Linked DNA regions of Homo sapiens: region 2 is linked to region 1. The links are contacts of gene promoters, found by promoter capture Hi-C in blood cells and fetal thymus (Javierre and others, 2016). All regions are on one chromosome and are shown on one strand. Each heading gives the region's core, a stretch centred on a gene start or on the middle of the fragment in contact. The rest is flanking DNA. Distances are from core to core; before and after follow the strand shown. Region 1 holds the start of NWD1 (NACHT and WD repeat domain containing 1). Region 2 overlaps CPAMD8 (C3 and PZP like alpha-2-macroglobulin domain containing 8).

Region 1 (2,576 bases), core at 26-2,525:
TGGCGCAATCTCGGCTCACTGCAAGCTCCACCTCCCAGGTTCATGCCATTCTCCTGCCTCAGCTTCCTGAGTAGCTGGGACTACAGGTGCAAACCACCACGCCCAGCTAATTTTTTGTTTTTTGTTTTTTGTTTTTTATGTAGAGACAGGGTTTCACCATGTTAGCCAGGATGGTCTTGATCTCCTGACCTCGTGATCTGCCTGCCTTGGCCTCCCAAAGTGCTGGGATTACTGGCGTGAGCCACCATGCCTGGGTGACTTGTGAGTTTTTGAGACAAAGTCTCGCTCTGTCACCCAGGCTGGAGTGCAGTGGTGCGATCTCGGCTCACTGCAAGCTCCACCTCCCGGGTTCATGCCATTCTCCTGCCTCAGCTTCCTGAGTAGCTGGGACTACAGGTGCAAACCACCACGCCCAGCTAATTTTTTGTTTTGTTTTGTTTTGTTTTTTTTGTAGAGACGGGGTTTCACCGTGTTAGCCAGGATGGTCTTGATCTCCTGACCTCGTGATCTGCCTGCCTTGGCCTCCCAAAGTGCTGGGATTACTAGCGTGAGCCACCATGCCCGGGTGATTTGTGAGTTTTTGAGACAAAGTCTTGCTCTGTCGCCCAGGCTGCAGTGCAGTGGCAGGATCTCGGCTCATTGCAACCTCCAACTCCCAGGTTCAAACAATTCTTGTGCCTCAGCCTCCCAAGTAGCTGGGATTACAGGCATGCGTCACCACGCCCAGCTAATTTTTCTATTTTTAGTAGAGATAGGGGTCTCACCATATTGGCCAGTCTGGTCTTGAATGCCTGACCTCAGGTGATCCGCCTGCCTCGGCCTCCCAAAGTGCTGGGATTACAGGCATGAGCCACCGTGCCCGGTCTTGGAGTTTTAATGGTAATTAATCATGGCTAACATCTCACGGGCCCTTCCTGTGATGTAGGTGTAGTGTTAGTCTCACTCTCTATATAAATGCTTTTCATTGTCTCACCAACACAGGAAGTTAGTGAGAAAATTCAAGTGCAGAGTAGTGAAGCGTCACAGGCAAGGGACTTCACCTTTCTGCATCTTGTTTTCTTCATCTGTGAAACAGGATCATAATGTCTGTCTCTTGGGGTAATAATGTGGACTGCTAATGCCAAATGCCAACCAACTGCACCTCCTAGACTGTCAGCAAATGGCATCTTTTACGAGGAGCCGTATCAGCCTGGCACACAATAGTTAACCACTAAGTCTGGGCTGAATGCCCGGCTAAGCTGGTGCCCTAGTGCAAACAATCGCTTTCATTATCCCAGTTGCTGGGAGAATTGGGCAAGGAGAGACCCATAAAATACCTAAGACGAAAGTTACTAGGATAGCCAGGGGCTTGTCTTCCGGGTGGCGCCGAGGCCAGGAAACTGTCCTCTCTAACCTATTTCCCCAGAGGAGTCTAAATTGGTCGTTCAACTACCAGCAAAGGCTAAAGAGAGGCTGGAGCCCCCAGGACAGCCAGAACGCTGACACTGCAAAGGGCCTCTGTCCTTACTGGGGAAGCCCAGTCCTGCTCAGCTGTCTTCTTCAGCAACAAACAGAAGTCCAGAAAGAGAAACAGTTGTGGAGGAAGCTGTTGTGATGATAATTTACTGAGCACCTACTATGTGCCAGGCACGCCAGCCTTACCAGACAAGATCCTTGGGCTCATGGAATTCACTTTCTCGTGGGACAGACAAACAATAACATGTAGAAACATATCAGCTGTTGGTGAGTACCATGCAGAAAATTAAAATAAGGCGATGGCATTGGGAGTGACTTAAGGGGTCACTACGCAATGGGATGGTCAGAGACAGCCTCTCAGGAGGAGGTAGCATTGAAGCTAAAATGTGAACAACATGAACAGATGCAGCATAGAGCACTAAAGTACAGGACGTGCAAAGGCCCTGAGGTTGAAATAAGCTAAATGCATTAGACTAGGGGGTTCTCGAGTAAGGGGAATTCTGCCCCCTAGGGGACATTGCAATGTCTAGGGAGACTTTTTTTTTTTTGAGACGGAGTCTCGCTCTGTCACTAGGCTGGAGTGCAGTGGCGTGATCTCAGTTACTGCAAGCTCTGCCTCCCAGGTTCACACCATTCTCCTGCCTCAGCCTCCTGAGTAGCTGGGACTACAGGTGTCCGCCACATGCCCGGCTAATTTTTTGTATTTTTAGTAGAGACGGGGTTTCACCGTGTTAGCCAGGATGGTCTCGATCTCCTGACCTCATGATCTGCCCTCCTCGGCTTCCCAAAGTGCTGGGATTACAGGCGTGAGCCACCGCACCTGGCCGAGACTTTTTCTTTTTGAGATGGAGCCTTGCTCTGTTGCCCAGGCTGGAGCGCAGTGGCACGATCTCGGCTCACTGCAACCTCTGCTTCCCGGGTTCAAGCGATTCTCCTGCCTCAGGCTTCCGAGTAGCTGGGATTACAGGTACATGCCACCGCGCCAGCTAATTTTTGTATTTTTAGTAGAGATGGGGTTTCGCCATGTTGGCCAGGCTGGTCTCGAACTCCTGGCCTCAAGTAATCTGCCTGTTTTGGCCTCTCAAAGTGCTGGGATTAGAGGTGTGAGCCACTGCACCCAG
Region 2 (2,576 bases), core at 35-2,534, 260 kb after region 1:
GGACATGTGGACTTCACAGAAAAATAGGCTTCTTCCCCAACCTATGGAAGACACGCAGCATGGGGGGCTCTGCCTCGCACCAATGTTGCAACCCACCACAGGAAGACGGCCATTCTGGGGCCAGAGGGAGGTTGGGATGGCTGAGGGAGCGGAGTGCCCAGCATCCAGTCCTGGCCCCTAGCTTTTTTGTTTTTTGTTTTCTTTTTTAAGATAGTGTTTCACTCTTGTCACCCAGGCTGGCATGCGATGGTGAGATCTCAGCTCGCTGCAACCTCTGCCTCCTGGGTTCAAGTGATTCTCCTGCCTCAGCCTCCTGGGTAGCTATTACAGGCGCCCGCCACCATGCCGGTATAATTTTTGTATTTTTAGTAGAAACGGAGTTTCACCATGTTGGCCAGGCTGGTCTCGAACTCCTGACCTCGTGATCCCAGTATTTTGGGCTCACGCCTGTAATCCCAGCACTTTGGGGGGCTGAAGCGGACAGATCGCTCAAGTCCAGAAGTTAGAGAGCAGCCTGAGCAACATAGTGAGACCCCCATCTCTACAAAAAGCACACACACATAAAATTGGCCAGGCGTGGTGGCACATGCCTGTAGTCCCCGCTACTCAGGGGGCTGAAGTGGGAGGGTCACTTGAGCCTAGGAAGTCAAGGCTGCAGTGAGCCATGATCGCACCACTGCACTCCAGCCTGGGTAACAGAGTGAGACCCTGTCTCCAAAAAAAAATAAAAATAAAATACTGTTTCCTAACTTTGAACGTGCTAATGCCACAAGTGGGCTGGGCCTTCTCTTAGGATATGAACTCAATGAGTTGGGTCCTATCATAGTCCCCAAGTTCCTAGAGGGGAAAACTGGAAACTGAGGCCTTGGTTCTTTGCCCAATGTCAATGAGTGTAGGGCAGGATTCAAACTCAGGGGAACTGATGCTAAGGCCCCACATTGAACCCTGAAGCTGCCATTATTCTGATATCAGGAAAGCTAAGGCCTCCCAGGTCCTAAGATCTCCCTAGGGGGTTGGCGTGTGGCCATGTCCAACACTTTGCCCTAGGAATCCCGCCTCTGTTCCATGTTTTGCAATCTGTGACTGTCCCCAAATGTTGGGATCACCCTGAAAGCCCAGAAGAGGGATATCTGGAGTAGGGGAAGAGTGACATTCTTGCCGTGGAAGCTTGGGCAAATCATTTCACCTCTCTGAGCCTCAGTTTCCCCACCTGTAAAATAAGGCTGTTATCTCCTGGACAGAGGGTCCTGAGGCTCCAATGAGATGATGTGTGTGTCATGCTCAACATCACACAATGCACACTGTAGGTGGCTAATAAGTGTCATTCTGGCCAGGGGCCATGGCTCACACCTGTAATCCCAGTATTTTGTTAGGCTGAGGTGGGTGGATCACTTGAGCCCAGAAGCTTGAGACCAGCCTGGGCAACAAAGTGAGATCCCGTCTCTACAAAAAATCAAAAAACTTTGGCCAGGCGCAGTGGCTCATGCTTTGTAATCTCAGCACATTGAGAGGCCGAGGCGAGAGGATTGCTTGAGTCTAGGAGTTCAAGACCCGCCACAGCAACATGGTGAAACCCCATCTCTACAAAAATACAAAAATTAGGTGGATGTGGTGGTGGGTGCCTGTGGTCTCAGCTACTCGGGAAGCTAAGGCGGAAGGATCACTTGAGCCAGGGAGGTCGATGTGCGGTGAGTCATGATCATGCCACTGCACCCTAGCCTGGGCAACAGAGTGAGACCCTGTCTCAATCAATCAATCAATATTTTTTAATTAAAAAAATATATAGTAAGAAAAATAAATGTCATTCTACCTCCCCCTAAAGGAAGAATCTGCCTGTTTAAGAAGCTGGGCCTAAGGGACTCCCACAGCCAAATTTGGAAAATTTGAGCAGCAAAAAGAAGAATGTCAGCTGAGTGTGGTGGCTCATGCCTATAATCCTAACACTTTGGGAGGCTGAGGCAGGCAGATTGCTTGAGTTCAGGAGTTCAAGACCAGCCTGAACAACATGGCAAAACTCCATCTCCACAAAAAATAATAAAAAAAATAGCTGGGTGTGGTGGCACAAGCCCATAGTCCCAGCTATCTAGGGGGGCTGAGGCAGGAGGATCACTTGAGCACAGGAGGTCAAGGCTGCAGTAAGCCATGACTGTGCCACCACCCTCCAGCCTCGGGTGCTATGGTTTGGCTGTGTCCCCACTCAAATCTCATCTTGAATTGTAGCTCCCATAATTCCCATGTGTTCTGGGAGGGACCCAGTGGGAGATAACTGAATCATGGGGACAGTTTCCCCAATACAGTTCTCATGGTAGAGAATGAGTCTCGTGAGATCTGATAATTTTATAAGGGGTTTTCCTTTTCACTTGGTTCCCATTCTCTCTTGTCTGCCACCATGTAAGATGTACCTTTCACCTTCTGCCATGATTGTAAGGCCTCCCCAGCCACGTGGAACTGTGAATCCATTAAACCTCTTTTTCTGGCTGGGCATGGTGGCTCACGTCTGTAATCCCAGTACTTTGGGAGGCCAAGGCAAGCGGATCACCTAAGGTCAGGAGTTCAACACCAGCCTCCCCAACATG

Evidence for each region. Contacts are between HindIII fragments. The CHiCAGO score rates a contact against its expected background, and 5 or more counts as called.
Region 2: a fragment that was not itself captured here is called in contact with the fragment with the promoter of NWD1 in region 1 in 2 of 17 cell types (M2 macrophages and M1 macrophages); the score reaches 8.8 in M2 macrophages.

What each region holds. Positions count from the first base shown.
Region 1 is chr19:16,718,572-16,721,147 of GRCh38, forward strand. NWD1 (NACHT and WD repeat domain containing 1) reads left to right here and starts at 1,276. Exons shown (of 19, transcript NM_001007525.5): 1 at 1,276-1,722. The HindIII fragment of the contact is 21,822 bases long and covers 1-2,576 here.
Region 2 is chr19:16,980,646-16,983,221 of GRCh38, forward strand. CPAMD8 (C3 and PZP like alpha-2-macroglobulin domain containing 8) reads right to left here. Exons shown (of 42, transcript NM_015692.5): 14 at 1-41. Among named protein-coding and RNA genes, the nearest start is that of CPAMD8, 45 kb to the right of the region's middle. The HindIII fragment of the contact is 238 bases long and covers 1,166-1,403 here.